Linked DNA regions of Homo sapiens: all the other regions are linked to region 3. The links are contacts of gene promoters, found by promoter capture Hi-C in blood cells and fetal thymus (Javierre and others, 2016). All regions are on one chromosome and are shown on one strand. The core of a region is centred on a gene start or on the middle of the fragment in contact, and the rest is flanking DNA. Distances in the headings are between cores, read along the strand shown. Region 1 overlaps RAB18 (RAB18, member RAS oncogene family). Region 2 overlaps RAB18 (RAB18, member RAS oncogene family). Region 3 holds the start of WAC-AS1 (WAC antisense RNA 1). Region 4 overlaps MASTL (microtubule associated serine/threonine kinase like). Region 5 overlaps ACBD5 (acyl-CoA binding domain containing 5). Region 6 overlaps ABI1 (abl interactor 1).

The links. Contacts are between HindIII fragments. The CHiCAGO score rates a contact against its expected background, and 5 or more counts as called.
Region 1: a fragment that was not itself captured here is called in contact with the fragment with the promoter of WAC-AS1 in region 3 in 2 of 17 cell types (non-activated CD4 T cells and total B cells); the score reaches 7.4 in non-activated CD4 T cells.
Region 2: a fragment that was not itself captured here is called in contact with the fragment with the promoter of WAC-AS1 in region 3 in 2 of 17 cell types (fetal thymus and activated CD4 T cells); the score reaches 6.3 in fetal thymus.
Region 4: a contact is called between a fragment that was not itself captured here and the fragment with the promoter of WAC-AS1 in region 3, in 1 of 17 cell types (naive B cells). The highest score is 5.1, in naive B cells.
Region 5: a contact is called between a fragment that was not itself captured here and the fragment with the promoter of WAC-AS1 in region 3, in 1 of 17 cell types (fetal thymus). The highest score is 8.5, in fetal thymus.
Region 6: a contact is called between a fragment that was not itself captured here and the fragment with the promoter of WAC-AS1 in region 3, in 1 of 17 cell types (fetal thymus). The highest score is 5.1, in fetal thymus.

Annotation. Positions count from the first base shown.
Region 1 is chr10:27,505,869-27,508,568 of GRCh38, forward strand. The region is part of intron 1 of RAB18 (RAB18, member RAS oncogene family); the gene reads left to right. Among named protein-coding and RNA genes, the nearest start is that of RAB18, 2.9 kb to the left of the region's middle. The HindIII fragment of the contact is 3,454 bases long and covers 1-2,700 here.
Region 2 is chr10:27,524,700-27,527,399 of GRCh38, forward strand. It overlaps RAB18 (RAB18, member RAS oncogene family), which reads left to right. Exons shown (of 7, transcript NM_021252.5): 3 at 2,129-2,190. Among named protein-coding and RNA genes, the nearest start is that of RAB18, 22 kb to the left of the region's middle. The HindIII fragment of the contact is 206 bases long and covers 1,251-1,456 here.
Region 3 is chr10:28,530,904-28,533,603 of GRCh38, forward strand. WAC-AS1 (WAC antisense RNA 1) reads right to left here and starts at 1,451. Exons shown (of 3, transcript NR_033805.1): 1 at 832-1,451. WAC (WW domain containing adaptor with coiled-coil) reads left to right here and starts at 2,215. Exons shown (of 14, transcript NM_016628.5): 1 at 2,215-2,700. The coding sequence starts at 2,677. RefSeq lists silencers at 1,469-1,888, 2,259-2,408, 2,619-2,698 and enhancers at 1,615-2,298, 1,919-2,108. The HindIII fragment of the contact is 8,015 bases long and covers 1-2,700 here.
Region 4 is chr10:27,171,128-27,173,827 of GRCh38, forward strand. It overlaps MASTL (microtubule associated serine/threonine kinase like), which reads left to right. Exons shown (of 12, transcript NM_001172303.3): 9 at 1,991-2,132. Among named protein-coding and RNA genes, the nearest start is that of MASTL, 17 kb to the left of the region's middle. The HindIII fragment of the contact is 652 bases long and covers 1,017-1,668 here.
Region 5 is chr10:27,232,999-27,235,698 of GRCh38, forward strand. ACBD5 (acyl-CoA binding domain containing 5) reads right to left here. Exons shown (of 13, transcript NM_145698.5): 3 at 2,094-2,214. Among named protein-coding and RNA genes, the nearest start is that of ACBD5, 6.4 kb to the right of the region's middle. The HindIII fragment of the contact is 2,508 bases long and covers 66-2,573 here.
Region 6 is chr10:26,853,075-26,855,774 of GRCh38, forward strand. All of the region lies in intron 1 of ABI1 (abl interactor 1), which reads right to left. Among named protein-coding and RNA genes, the nearest start is that of ABI1, 6.5 kb to the right of the region's middle. The HindIII fragment of the contact is 9,481 bases long and covers 1-2,700 here.

The DNA of each region.
Region 1 (2,700 bases), core at 136-2,635, 1.0 Mb before region 3:
AGTGTTCCTCATGTAATGTCCTCTGTGTCTACTGGAATGAAGGATTTGCACATACCAAGGAATAGAATAATGAAATACTATGAGTTAGCAAACCAGCATGATTTGTCTGTGTGTGTGTAAAAGGCATGAGTAAAATTATTTACATGATCATCTATTATTGCACATACATATTTGAGTGTTAAAAAGTTAAACGTTGTCTTAATAGGAATTTCACAGCCTTGTGATCTTTCTTTTTCTTTTCTCCTTTTTTCCTTGAGATATCGTTCTCATTTAAGTTCAGGCATATGAAATTAGTGTTTTTGAAGTCAAGAATGGTTGGTTGTCATTTCATGTAGTTCAACCCAATACATGGTTGGTTAGCACTTTTTCTAAATGTATTGCATGGATGACAAGTTAGGGTATGTTAAAATTTTCTGGAAGGTTAACTGGAGTATATAAACAAAATTCCTCTGCTCTACCCGCTGTTTTTTTGAGACAGGGTCTTATTCTGTCACCCAGACTGGAGTGCAGTGGCATGATCATAGCTCACTGCAGTCTCAATCTCCTGGGCTCAAGTGATCCTCCCACCTCAGCCTTTTGAGTAGCTGGACTATAGGCACGAGTCACCATGTCTGACTAGTGTTTTTTTATTTTTTATAGAGAGGAGGACTCACTGTGTTGCCCAGGCTGTCTCGAACTCCTGAGCTCAACAGATCCTCCTGCCTTGACCTCCCAAAGTGCTAGGAACATAAGCATGAGCCACCACAACCGGCCCTACTTCTAAAATTTTTTTCATAGATGGGATTTTCCTATGTTGCCCAGGTGGTCTCCAACACACAGGCTCAAGCCAAACTCCTGCCTCATACTCCTAAAGTGCTGGGATTACAGACACAAGGCATGACACCCAACCGAGGTTCTCCTTGTAGAGTAAGGCCTGTTAAGTGGATTTATCAGTCTCCCTAGTTCATGCCACCGAAACAAAGAAACAAATTTACCGTGGGCCTAATCTGTTTTAAACTTTTTCCTCAATACGTAGCAATGGATTATCAACTGCTCGATGCAGGATTTTGTCACTTTATTTCTTTTGTGAAAGGATTACATATAGTGAGAAAGTTGTCTTATTTGTCTAGCTAGATATACATTATTGGCCTGTGTGATATGCTGTGGAAAACAATCTTAAACACTCTGGATAAGATGAGAATAAATGACTCCACTGAAATAGAAGTCTATGCCTTTTAAAGTGAATTAGTACAAAAACATTTGCTGTGGATATGATCTTAAAGGATTGTTTTAACCAAGTTTGTTTCTATTTCATTACAGAGCTGGAGCTAGTGGAAGTGAGATAGCACTTGTGCTGTTGGGGAAAACAAAGGATATGTTTAATCCGAATTAGTGGATTACTTTCTAGTGATTTCATAGTGTTAGAGTCTAAAGGGTATGTGATAGTAGTCAGGAGATCAGGATTATGAAACTGGGGCTGCCACTTGTGTGACCTTGTGTGTGATACTTGAATGCTGTAGGCCTTCATTTCAAAAGCGAGGGGGTTGGAATAGAAACCTCTCAGACCCTAAATGTGTAAGACTCCAATTCTGTGGCTAGGCCTGGTAAGGTAAAGAGTAGCAGAATATATCAAGAACTGGAAGGGATTAGAGAGACCTATTATCTAAATTGCTGTCCCTCCTTTGCCCCTTGCCTTCCCTTTTTTTTTTTTTTTTGGTGAATTTCATATGTAAATTTAAAAAATGCAGATTAGTTATAATCACACTCTGTTTATTATAAATTTGGTCACATCTAAGTGCCATGGTGGTAGTTACTCCTTCCATCTCTACTTCTGCATGGGAAACATTTTGCTCCTTTAACTTTGAAAATATGAGGGTGTAAATATACAATACTATAAGAATGGTGCTTCTGCCAGGTGCAGTGGCTCATCCTGTAATCCTAGCTACTCGGGAGGCTGAGACAGGAGGATCTCTTGAGGCCAGGAGTCCGAGACCAGCTTGGGCAACATAACGAGACCATGCCTCTAAAAAAATAAAAATAAAAAAATTAGCCGGCCATGGTGATGCACACCTGTCATGCCAGTTACTTGGGGGGCTAAGGTGGGAGGATTAGTGAGCTGTGATTCTGCCACTGCATTCCAGCCTGGGTGACAGAGTGAGACCCTCTCTCTTAAAAAAAAAAAAAAAAAAGTGTGCTTCTTAATTATTTTGAGATTGTCAGTTCTTTTCAAAATCTAATAGAGAAATGGACTCTCTGTCCCTTTCAAAGTCTAATAGAGAAATGGACTCTCTGCCTAGAAAAATGCACACATAGAATTTAGAATACTTTTTGGGCTACCAGGGTACCCCTGTCTAAGATCTGATGTATACCCAGAGCCTGTATTAAAATTTGTTGCTTCACACCATGCCACCAATTCCCTGCCTCTCCTTACAAAGTACTGTTAATAACAAAGGCCATTTAAGGATTAGCAATTATGAGAGAAAAACCTCTGGCTTTGTGTCTGCACATTGCCATATGTTCAATAAATAATACCCAATATCATCATTATTGTATTATTATTATGATATTATTACAACTAGTCTACAAGGTAATCTTATGTTTTTGTAGTAATATTTTCTGTGGTGACCACGTGTAGATATTATGTATCTTTTCTTAAATTATGGGTAACTGAGTATGTTGGGAGAGAAGAAAAATTTTATAGGTAGTCTTTAAGAGTCTTAC
Region 2 (2,700 bases), core at 104-2,603, 1.0 Mb before region 3:
TTGGGTAAGAAACTGGCAAAATCAAATCTCTCAAAAAGACTCCCACTGCTGCTACCAATTAAGATAAATTATCAGCCACTTAACAAAAGAGAAGCATGATGAAGAAGCAGTTTTAGCATGTGAGATCTGAAGAGCTCAATTGCTGCATGTGAGATTCACCAGAGGAACCTAGGGAAGATGACTGGGGACTTTAGGGGTCTGGATTTAGATTAGGTGCCCCTTCAGGCTACCTGTGTCTGTTGGCTTTGATGGCAGGACGACAGTGTTCAGTGTCTCCTGTGGATGGGTATTGGTAAGTTTCAGATATAATATGTCAAAAGCATAACTTAGAGACATTGTTAGTTATCCACATGCAAATTATTCTTATGTCAGAGACAGTCATTAGACTGTTCACAACAAACTTGCAGAACCAGGAAATAATAATAGAGAAAGAGGAGTTGGGGTATGGGAAGAAAACACATACATTCTGGAAGCGGTGGGTTTCTTTTCTTGGGTAAACAAATTAGCTCATAGGAAAGATGCTTGTCTGCTCTTGAACATGTATCTGGGATTATTAAGGAAAAAAATTAGTTCTTTATATACTCCCTGAAAAACCTTGAGAATTTAACTGTAGAGTGTGCATGACAGAGGCTATCTCTGTGTAGTGTCTGCCAGTGGCTGTCATTTAGTACCTGCACCAAGTCAGAACCATTTTCCTCCTCTGAATTTTCTCAGGGTTTGTGCTTTGCTTTTTTTTTTTTAAAGCAATAGGAAGAAAATGTAGATAATTTCATGTTGTTTATGTAGATGGTTCCACTTTTAAAATGGCATAGTAACTTCTTTATTTAGACCTGGTTAATACAAGATTATTTAGCATGTGGGATTTTTTGTTTGTTTGGCTGTGAAGAAATTTTATATTTAGGTTTTTGTTGGGCTATGTAATCAACACTGTCCTTTTACTAATGGTTGCCCATCATTCTAGGCTTTATCAACTCCTTTATCACCCCAGCTCAAAACACCAAACTTAAAAATATATATATTTGGTATACAGAAAGACCTGGCATAATGCACATTTTGAATGTGCATTTTTATTACTGAATTTGTATATGTAATGGATCACCACAAGTCTTCCAAGAATTACAAATATATTTCCATATTGGTGACAGGTGTTCTATTAAGCATTTAGTATGTGAGGGTGCTGTTCATCTTAGTTGGGGCTGTTCTGAATTAATTGTGACAAGCTAATAAGATATTTTGAAAGTTTCTTTCCAAGCTTCTTGAGCTAATGTTTTCCCTCTGGCCAGTGGGGTAGACTGAACTCTTGAAAGACATGTGGGCAGTTGCTGTTCATTTAAGCCAGATGGCATGTGTCAACTCCTTTTCCTGGAAAGGGAGAGGTTTCTTTTTTGGCTGCTGTAATAAAGCCTTGTGGACTTCTTATGAAACTCTTTTCTTTACATAAATTAGTACTTATAGAAGCTTTTCATAGAACTTTGGGCACTCCTCTTTCACTTATGAAGATTCTTAGATGGTTGTATATAAATGTTTTCATGTATAAATTGTTTTATTGAAATTGTGCTGTAGCAAGTTATTGATTAGGTTATTACATAAAAATAGTATTTTTTTAGGATAAAAATAAAGAGATTATATGACAAGGAGTGAGTGGCCCTTTAATATTTTTACCGGTTCCCCAAGCTGCTTACAGTCAAGATCTGAGTTAGTGGTTGGCTGGCAGTGGACAGCACTCTTAACAGTAGCATGTGGATGCTTAGGGAGCCCCTGGAAGCTGCCATGACCCACAGTCAGCCATGGATAGTCTTCTTTATGTGAGCATTGTAATTGCAGCTCTTGACTTTTAACACGCATAGTGAGTTATCACCTTAAATTGAATTTCGTTTTTCCTTTTTGGAAGAATAGAAGGTAGGTGAGTGAGTGAATTCTACAAGCATTTGATTTTCATTTATCCTGATTAAATCCTAAGATCCTGGATTTTAATGACACTTTTTATCTCCACATCCAGAATTCTAAGAAGTTGGGGTGTGAATTGGGCATTTGATAATAGTGACTTTTCTGTTTTCTGGTTTTCTTGGTAATGGATTTTAAAAGTCTGTTTTACTGGGAGACTTATCAAAATTTTCATTTCTTTAAGGTGTTGACTTTAAGGTGAAAACAATTTCAGTGGATGGAAATAAGGCTAAACTTGCAATATGGGTAAGAGTTTTTAAAATGTATTTTTAAAATATTAAACTTTACTTTTTAAGGATGCAGAAATTGATTTGTGTAGTGTTCTAGAGGTGGTGAATGAACAATTTGTATTAAATAACTTTTGGGAGATTTGATACTGATTAAAGGATAAACAGTAATGTCTTATAATTGGGTAATTAGGCAGCTATGTTTTGTTTAAATTTTCACAATGCATAATTCTTTATGAATATTTCAAAACAGAACAGAATATTAAAAAATCATCTCATCTGCCAAAGAGAATCATAATTGGATATGTTTCTTTGAAGTTTTAAAAAGACCATCTAGACTGAACTAACACTAAAGACAATTTTTAAGGGGAGGAGGAATGACGTGATATTTAGGAAAAAATTTTATTTTTCTTGTTTGTTAGTATAGATATTTATAAAATTTGAGGTTTCAAACTTTGGGCTTATTTTTAATGCCTCGTTTTTCCTTACTGGCTTCTTTTCGTTTTCCTGTCAATCCAACCATTCTGAT
Region 3 (2,700 bases), core at 201-2,700:
GTGTGATCATGACTCACTGCAGTCTCGAACTCCTGGACTAAAGTGATTGTTCAGCTTCAGCCTCTGGGAGTAGCTAGGAATACAGGCATGCATCACCATGCCTGGCTACTTTTGAGCAAATGGTTTATACCAATTTCAGCAGACATCTAGTTATCAAACAAATTAGTAGTAATTTTGCTGCCAGTTTTCAAAGTTTCTATGAAATGTTATTTGTTGTACTCCTCTGATGTTTGTCTTCAATGGATTCACTACAAATATGTCAGAAATTACATGTTAAGATGCTACCGAATTTTTTTGTTTTCATAATTTCAGTCACTGTCAATTTTTTTTTTTAGTTACTGGTAGTTTAAGAGAGCATTAAATAGGCTTTTTATTGGTCTGCACATCTCCACAAACAGCAATAAGCTCTACATCTGGCAGATGGATGTGACAAATAAGATTATGTAATTAAAATTTTTTTTCCAACCAGTTGTGATTTCAGAGCCTTTCTCCCTACATCATTCCATCTCTCCATTCTATTAGGTCTAGCAATAACGTAACTTCTTGGATACCAAGTAAATCAGTTACTTTTTATTTTTTGGAGGGGGTTGTTTCTTCTGACTTGTTTACTATTTGCCTCTTCTGTGTTAATCACCTAATTATGTTTACCACAATTCTTTTCATTAAACTATGTTGCCTTACAAATAGTGCAAAAAAAAAAAAAAAAGTCAACCAATCACCCGAATACCACCACTCTCAACTAACGGTTGTTTGGTATACTTCACGTTTCTTCTCTCAATGTACCTGCAGCAGTACATAAAATCAAATTTGTAGCAATTTCACTTAACACACCTGAGAACTTTCACATGAATTTTCTTTCACCAATGGACTTCAGCGAGGAAGAAACAGAGGAGGGAAAAGTGAGAGATAAAGAGAGGGTGGGCAGGGCACCGCTGGGTATGGAAAACGTTAGAAAGGGATGGAAAACGTTAGAAAGGGGTGAAAAGCCGAGCGCAGTGGCTCACGCCTGTAATCCCAGCACTTTGGGAGGCCGAGGCGGGAGGATCGCTTCAGGCCAGGGGTTCGAGACCAGCCTGGGTAACACAGCGAGACCCTATCTCCGGAAAAACTTTTTTTAAAAAATTAGCCGGGTGTGGTGGTGCATGCCCGTGGTGCCAGCTACTTAGAGGGCTGAGGTGGGATGACCCGTAAGCCCCGGAGGTCGAGGCTGCAGTGAGCCGTGATCGCGTCACTGCACTCAGACTGGACGACAGCGCGAGACCTGTCTCAAAAAAAAATAACAAGGGGTAGGGTGGGGCAGTGAGATGGTTCAGCGTTGTTCCCAAGGAACTCATCTCCCTAAATTTCCAGTCTCAAGCGCCGCTTTCATTCCCTGCCCCGAGCGGCGCTCCCCGCTCCGTGCACGCATCTCCGCTGAGGGCCGCCCTGACGCACGGCCTTCTGCCTTGAACACAGAACCCCTCAGCCCTTCCTATTAGCCGTTTCTGGCCGGGACTGCACGCGCTCCTTCCTGCCTCGGGGCGCAGGGTGAGACTTACGTCTAAAGGGCGCCCGGCGAGCTCGCAGCAGCCCCTGCCCCGCGGAGGGCCGGTGGCGCGCGGCGTCCGGTGAGGGGCAGCGGCCCGGGCTCGGTTCCGGCTTCCAGCAGCGGCCCGAAGGCGCCGGAGCACGCTCCCCGCTCCCCAGAACGCAGCTTCCGCGGCTGCAGCCCAGGCAGCTCTTCGGGAAGCGTCCGCCCGTGGTCTCGCCAGGGGGTTTCCGACCTCCCCGCCCGACAGCGCAGGGGCGGGGGCCGCGGCCGGAGAGCTCGCCCGAGAGCACCCCCTCCCGCTGCGCCTCTGGGCGCACGCGCAGCCGCTGCAGCCTCCCTTATTTAGTCCGCGATGGCTTCCCTCGCGCCCCACCGTCCTCTTCCGGAAGGCGGCTCCCTCCCTGCGCAGCCCGGAGCCCCTGAGATCAGCCTCGAGCAGGCGCCCGAGCGAGACTATCCCTAAACGGGAACGGCGGTGGCCGACTCGCGAGTGAGGAAAAGAAGGAAAGGGCAGACTGGTCGCGAAGAGAAGATCCAGGCCTCAGAGGAGGAGAAAGGCCGGAGCCAGCCGAGGTTTGCCGAGGGCGGTGTTCCGGACCCGCGCGGTGCGGGGAGGAAGGCCGAGGGTGGGAGAGGAGGGGCCCGGCGGAAACTGCCGAGGTTTCCCGAAGGCGGCAGCGTCCGAGTTGCCCGGATGTAGTTGGTGGAGCGGCAGCGGCGGCACCAGCGGCGGCGGCGGCGGCGGGAGGAGGAGGAGGAGAAGAAGGACCAGGCGGCGGCAGCAGCGGCGGCGGCGGGGGGAGGAGGGGAGGAGGCGGCGGAGCAGGAGGAGGAGAAGGCGGAGGAGGCAGTCGCTCTCCGCGGGGCTGAGCCGGACGCGTCGTCTTGCCCCCCTCCCCCCGGTTCGCGGTGCCGCCGTGTAGTTGGCGCCGCTGCCCCGGCTGAGAGTGAGCGTGGTGTCGACGGAGGGAGATGGCCCGGGAGCGCCGGCGCCAGTAACTGGGAGCTGATGAGAGTCGCCGAGGGCGCGCCGGGCCCAGGTGCCGGGGCTGCCCGCCGCCCGCCGCCGCCGCCGCCTGCGCGCCCGCCCGCCTTTCGCGGCCGCTCTCCCCCCTCCCCGACACACACTCACAGGCCGGGCATTGATGGTAATGTATGCGAGGAAACAG
Region 4 (2,700 bases), core at 93-2,592, 1.4 Mb before region 3:
ACTATGAAGACAGACATTTGCCTCTAAGCTAGACTATGCGGTATTAATCATATAGTTCTGTTCTTCTTGTTGAGAATCTGTGGGCTGTTGGAAGTTTTCACCCAGAAAAGTAAAGCTGGTAGAAATCATGTTTATTATTTTTAGCTGTAATGCCTCCTTCCATTTGTGTCGTTTTATGTACTTTCCTAAGAAAATACAATCACATATTTTCACTTGATCCCCACAGTACTATGAGTTACAAAATTAATTTTCACTTGATCCCCACAGTACTATGAGTTACAAAATTATTATTATTATTATTATTATTATTATTATTATTATTATTGAGACAGTCTCGTTCTTTTGCCCAGGCTGGAGTGCAGTAGTGTGATCTTGGCTCATTGCACACTTCACCCCCAGGTTCAAGCGATTCTCCTGCCTCAGCCTCCCAAGTAGCTGGGATTATAAGGGGCCCACCACCACACCTGGCTAATTTTTGTATTTTTAGTAGAGTCGGAATTTCACCATGTTGCCCAGGCTGATCTCAAACTCGTGACCTCAAGCAATCCGCCCACCTCGGCCTCTCAAAGTGCTAGGATTACAGGTGTGAGCCACCTCACCTGGCCAGAGATAATTTAAGTCCGCTCTACCTTACTGCCTTCCAAGGACATATTTAGATGATCTCTTCTTAAGAGAATAAAAGTTGAAAAATATGTTTCTTTTTTTTTTTTTTTTTTTTTTGAGACAAAGTCTCGCTCTGTCACCAGGCTGGAGTGCAGTGGCGCGATCTTGGCTCACTGCAACCTCCGCCTCCCGGGTTCAAGCGATTCTCCTGCTTCAGCCTCCTGAGTAGCTAGGACTACAGGCATGTGCCACCATGCCCAGCTAATTTTTGTATTTTTAGTAGAGATGGGGTTTCACCACGTTGGCCAGGATGGTCTCGATCTCTTGACCTTGTGATCTGCCTGCCTTGGCCTCCCAAAGTGCTGGGATTACGGGCATGAGCCACCATGCCCAGCGAAAAATATATATTTCAAAGCTTACTCTCTATATTCTAAACCTTTACCAACCCAAAGTTTTACTTTTTTTCTTCCTTTGGGAAAACATCATAACATAAAATGTGTAACCCCTGAATTTATGTTTCGAAACTTGAGTTTTCTACCCAAGACTTACTATTAAATGACTTAGAAGTCCCTTAACCTCAGACCTGCAATTTTTCTAAATGTCTGTAAGGGATAATGGCACCTGTCTTGCTGGTCTTACAAAGTTGTTGTGAATGCCAGGCGTGGTGGCTCACACCATCTTTGGGAGGCCAAGGTGGGAGGATCACCTGAGGTCGGGAGATCGAGACCAGCCTGACCAACATGGAGAAACCCCGTCTCTACTAAAAATACAAAATTAGCCAGGCATGGTGGTGTATGCCTGTAATCCCAGCTACTTGGGAGGCTGAGGCAGGAAAATTCCTTGAACCTGGGAGGCGGAGGTTGTGGTGAGCCGAGATCGCACCACTGCACTCCAGCCTGGGCAACAAGAGCGAAACTCCATCTCAAAAAAAAAAACTTGTTGTGAAATAACAAATTATCCTAAAAATTTTTAAATGCTATTTAGTACAATAGGTTATATGTAGTTCTGTCTTACGTGTTGTCTTAATCATTTGTTAGCCATAGCCTTCCTCAGTGGCTCTTCTTAAGCTTGTATTAGTCCATGCTATCAGTCTTCTTGCAGATTTTTTCACTGAACATTTTTCTTGCAGATTTTTTTTATTGTTTCTTATCTAGATCTTATTGGAATAATCAGTGTTGTCTAAGCTTTTGAACTTCACCAGATAAAAGGACTTTTTCATAATTATAACTAATTATGCATTCATTTTCAAAACTTATCAAAAATTTGACTACATCCTTTACGCCTAGTAGCCTATGAGCTAGTTATTTGGCTTGTGTGTTTCACCATTTTCTATTCGGTGTAAAAGGAATTAAGATATTTGTTATCTCTTAAACCCTTTTTGAATTAGCAGACCCCAAATCAGATCAAGTCGGGAACTCCATACCGAACTCCGAAGAGTGTGAGAAGAGGGGTGGCCCCCGTTGATGATGGGCGAATTCTAGGAACCCCAGACTACCTTGCACCTGAGCTGTTACTAGGCAGGGCCCATGGTAAGGCATGCATGTCTTGAGTTTTTGAAGTGTTATCTATCACTACATTATCTTTCAAGGTTAAATTTTAAAAAATTTCTTCAGTACTTACGTTACCTAAAGTAAAAGAAAATGAACTCATCTAGTATATATATGGCATTTGTCATAGGAAAATAAACTAGCAGTAGCCATGGCTGTCCCACTCTCTGAATGTAAAAGACCAGATGCTGGAGTACATGTAGTCATTTGTCCTTTGCCTTCTGGTTCAGTCTCAATGTTCCAGAGAAGCCCCACCTGCCACCCTTGATATTATCTTATCTCTTTTTTTATTTTTTTATTTATTTTTATTTTTATTTTTTGAGACAGAGTTTCTCTTTTGTCACCCAGGCTGGAGTGCAATGGTGCAATCTCGGCTCACTGCAATCTCTGCCTCCCAGGTTCAAGTGATTCTCTGGCCTCAGCCTCCTGAGTAGCTGGGATTACAGGCATCCACCATCATGCCCGCCTAATTTTTGTATTTTTAGTAGAGACAGTTTCACCATGTTAGCCAGACTGGTCTTTAACTCCTGACCTCAGGTGATCCTCCCAC
Region 5 (2,700 bases), core at 70-2,569, 1.3 Mb before region 3:
CTGTTATTTTGTGACAATTCATAAAGATCTTAAAGGAAAGTAGAGAACTAAGAAATCTTAAAACAAGCTTATGGCACTTCCAGTTCAGGGTGAAGAAACTGAGCATCACAGTGTGTGGGGAAAAAACAAACAAACAAACAAAAATGGGCAGGGCACAGTGGCTTATGCCTGTAATCTCAGCACTTTGAGAGGCCATGGCGGGCGGATCACTTTAGGTCAGGAGTTCGAGACTAGCCTGGCCAACATGGTGAAATTCTGTCTTTACTAAAGACATAAAAATTAGCCAGGCGTGGTGGCACGCGCCTGTAATCCCAGCTACTCGTGAGGCTGAGGCAGGAGAATTGCTTGAACTTGGGAGGCGGAGATTCAGTGAGCCAAGATCGCGCCACTGCACTCCAGCCTGGGCGACAGAGTGAGACTCCGTCTGAAGAAAAAAAAAAAAAAAAACTGGTGTGGCATGGTGGTTCACACCTGTAATCCCAGCCAAGGCAGGTGGATCACTTGAGACCAGGAATTTGAGACCAGCCTGGGCAACACATGCAAACCCCGTCTAGGAAAAAATTTAAAAAATTAGCCGGGTGTGGTGGCACAAGCATGTGGTCCCAGCTACTAGGGCGGCTGAGGTGGGAGAATTGTTTGAGCCCAGGAGGCAGAGGTTGCAGTGAGCCATGATGGTGCCACTACACTCCAGCCTGAGTGATGGGAGTGAGACCCTGTGTCCAAAAAAAAGGTGTGGGTTTTAAAACATGCTTCACCACTGGGGCGGGAGCGGGGGGTGGCTCACGCCTATAATCCCACCACTTTGGGAGGCCGAGGCGGGCAGATCACCTGATGTCGGGAGTTCAAGACCAGCCTGACCAACATGGAGAAACCCTGTCTCTACTAAAAATACAAAATTAGCTAGGCGTGGTGGCGCATGCCTGTAATCCTAGCTACTCAGGAGGCTGAGGCAGGAGAATCGCTTGAACCTGGGAGGCAGAGGTTGCGGTGAGCTGAGGTCACGCCATTGCACTCCAGCCTGGGCAACAAGAGTGAAACTCCATCTCAAAAATAAATAAATAAATAAAACATGCTTCACCAATTAGCATATTCTGTTCATAACGTACAGTCTAAAATTGACTTTTCTCAGACATTTGTGAAGGCTTCAATTGTATTAGAGTATCAACTGTTAGTCAACTGGGAAAACAGCACGGATGAGTACAGGTACCTGTATCTATAATTCTTTTAGTTTATAGTTTATAATTCATTTAAGTATACTTTTTAGTTTAGAATTCTTTTAAGTATATAAAAGATCAAATTTCTATTCAATTACAGTAGGTCAGAAGTGACAGCTTAGATAAAAAGTTAGCATGGCAGTACCTGAGTCATATTCCTAGTTATTTATTATCTTCAAGGCTCAGTACAAACAAGGAAAAGCCATTATTTTTCTTGCAGGCAAAAGAGGCAGTTAAAAGTTTGTTTATTTAACTTAGGTTGGGAGTTGCTCTTGCCTTAAAAAAAAAAAAAAAAAAAGGGAAAACTCCATGAAAGTAAAGATTAACTGATAATGCTTCTTTATCTTTGATGCACCTATCCCTTTTGGTTTTACTGTTTTCCTCTCCTCCCCAAGATTTTCCTATTTGTGTAAAATTGTACTAAGAGCACCTGGGAAGGCTGGGCATGGTGGCTCACGCCTGTAATCCCAGCACTTCGGGAGGCCGAGGTGGGCGGACCACCTGAACCCAGCAGTTCGAGACCAGCGTGGCCAACATAGTGAAACCCTGTCTCTACTAAAAATACAAAAATTAGCTGGGTGTGGTGGCGCGCACCTGTAATCCCACCTACTCAGGAAGATGAGGCAGGAGAATCACTTGAACCCAGGAGGCAGAGGCTGCAGTGAGCCGAGATCCTGCCACTGCACTCCAGCCTGGGCAACAGAGTGAGACTCCATCTCAAAAACAAACAAACAAAAAAGAAAACCTGGAGGATAAAAATTGTACCCAATACCTAGGACACTTTCTGCACAGAATAATATATAACCACTTAAGTAATAGCCATATGATAATTATGTCATTAAAATTTAAATTCTTGCATAGCTCTACACAAAAAATTACCATTTATATCTTCCAATAGGATCCCAAAATCCAGGCCTTGAAAGTTTACAGGGTCCTTCAGTTGCCTGCTTATAGAAGCTATAAAATTTAAGCATCATTTCATTTGTTGGCTGGAATGAACCTGTTGGAAACACACATTAAATACAAATCACCTGGGGAATACAACTGATAATCAGGTTATAAATTAGCTTAGCTATACTAATAGTGATTTTATATTGCATTAATACTTTAGATAATGATTTATTTCTAGCTTATAGAAACAAAAGTTATGGTTCTGTTAGTTGCTTGCTTCTTTGATTTCAAAACACTCTGAGATTTTAAACTTTAATAGCAATGCCTAAGATGGTTCAATAAATAAAAGAATACATGAATAGACATGCTGTAGATATAACCAAAATAACCTGCAAATGTCTCTTTAAAAACATACTAAAATATAGAATAACTATTATTAAGCAATCGTAATAAGGTACTTTTATTCAAAGCTTATGACAAATCAAAACTGACTAGTGTAAGTGAAAAAGTTATATGTATACTCTGCCAAATTTCAAATTCTCAGTAGATAAGGAATTTGGGGCTAAAGCCAAAGAGTATACACTATGGTAGAAAA
Region 6 (2,700 bases), core at 174-2,673, 1.7 Mb before region 3:
GTCTCCATTCTAAGGGATGGATATTTACTGTTAAAATGACCACGTCAACTATTTCCTTTAAAAACAAAATCGATGGCGTGAACCCGGGAGGCGGAGCTTGCAGTGAGCCGAGATCACACCACTGCACTCCGGCCTGGGTGACAGAGCGAGACTCCATCTCAAAAAAAAAAAAAAAAAAAATCCAGTAATTGCTACTTTCCTATTGTCTTATTTCTCAACAATGCCCTTTTTTTTTTTTAAAAAAAATCCCTTTTTTCTAACATGATGTCTTAGTAAATATTAAGATCTACAAAGTTTGTAGTTCTGGGGTTTGACTATTATTTCTTCTACAATCAAACCATAATTTCAATAAATATTACAATCAACACAAGATGATATTAGGAAAAATATACAACCTCCCAATCAAAACTTTGTAAATGCTTCAAAATTAGCATTAACTATCAATTTTACCTTACTTTTTTTTTTTTTTTTTTTTGAGACGGAGTCTCGCTCTGTCACCCAGGCTGCCAGGCTGGAGTTCAGTGGCACAATCTCAGCTCACTGCAAGCTCCGCCTCCGGGTTCACGCCATTCAGCCGCCTCAGCCTCCCAGGTAGCTGGGACTACAGATGCCCGCCACCACACCCAGCTAACTTTGTTTCTGTATTTTTAGTAGAGACGGGGTTTCACCATGTTAGCCAGGATGGTCTCGATCTTCTGACCTCATGATCCGCCCGCCTCATCCTCCCAAAGTGCTGGGATTACAGGTGTGAGCCACCACGCCCAGCCTTTACCTTACTTTTCATGCCAACACTATTTTCATGGGTTTTATAGATTTATATCTGCACAATATCCTAGAGTTTGATCCAACCTCTTGTCCCAATATGAACACTCTTCCTTTCTGGCTAACATATTTTTGACTGTTAACTGTCTTAATTCTTAGGACATAATTTCACTGAATATAAATAAGGTTACTGTAAATGGTCACACAGCAGATCCCCAGTTGCCTAAATATCTCCTTTCCACAAGGACTATTAGCATTCCTGAGCTATCAGAATCAACTGGAGAACGCAGAAGCACACAAGAAAAATTTGCAAGTATCCTAAGAGATTATTTCAATAATTTTCTAAGAAAACTCTCCAAAAGACAGAAGCATGCTAAAATTGAGGTTCTAAACAGACCAGGACTAGTCAGAAGTACTACATATAAAGCTGTTATTAGTATTAAAGCCACAAAAGAAAAAAGAGAAGACATTAGTTTTAATACAAATTTGCAAATATTATATAGTCCTAAAAATATGCAGTATTCTCACCTTGAGAGTATTAGCAAGAACTGATATATGTGATATGGACTTTCATAAGAACTGATATGCTGGGTTCACAGACTTGGTGTGAAAGAAGAAAAAAAAAAAGGAAAGAAAAGAAAAAAAAAGAACTGATATGCTAGGTCAGATCCTGCTCTACCCAGCCCTGTATCACCTTGACACAACAGCATGAATAAACATGTAATGACATGGTATGGGTCGATTTAACAATTAACTGAGGATCTTCCATAAAATTATCTAACCTTCTGTTAAATACATTTACATTTCCAACCTACATCTCTAACTTTGCTAGTCACTGTTTTACTCACACTTCAAAGTGCAATTCTAGGAATTCTAACCATTCCAGTCTATCCTCATCTCCTGAATCACTTTGACTGTTTTTCCCCAAACCTGGTTTGTATAGAAATCACATCTACCCAGAATATTTCCACATATTTTTTGTTAATCTCTACAAATGCTTCTTCAAAATTTCTTAGCACAATTGCAACACAGACTAACAATAGAAAAAAGACAGGCAAGGATGCAGGAAAAGAAAAAAGGATCCAGGGAGCTCAGTGAAAAGCTAGGCTGTAATTCCTATACAGGTTCAGTATCCCTAATCTGGAAATCCAAAACCCAAAACTTCTTGAGCATCAACATGACACAAAAATAAATGCTCATTAGACTATTCTGGATTTCAGATTTTCAGATTAGGGAGGCTCAACCAGTAAGTATATAATGCAAACATTCCAAAATTCAAAAAAAAATCTGAAACATTTCTGGTCCCAAGCATTTTGAATAAAGGATACTTAACCTGTAGTTGAACACTTCAAATGCCAAAGTTACCATCTTTTGGTGATATAGGCAAGTCCCTAAATTACAAACATATCTCTTCTTATATTCACAACCTGGAAACAATGGTAAAGAGTTGTTAGGTTCCCAGGCTTGCCCAATACCAGTCTATTCTGTTTATTCCACGGTATTCCTGAACCAGTTTTGAGTTCTAGATTCTTTCATGTGAAAACAGTATGATATGAAAAGAGCACAGCCTATGGAGTCTGCCAGAGTCAGAAGGAAGTCCTGACTGCCAATTACTAACTCTATGACTAAACAAAACTTAACTTTTATGAGTCCTAATTTCCTCATATGTAAGACAGCACTGTCTGTCGTGGCGAGTTTGTAAGGATTAAAGATAATACAAAACCAACCAGCAGAGACTGCAATGGAGTACGTATTCAATAAATAGAGGCAATTATATTACCCTCTACCCTTCTCTATTACCCTCTGCGCACATTGTTTTTATCCCCTATGTTGCCATAAGAACCCTGTTTAGGGCCGGGTGCGGTGGCTCACACCTGTAATCCCAGCACTTTGGGAGGCCAAGGCGGGTGGATCACCCGAGGTCAGGAGTTTGAGACC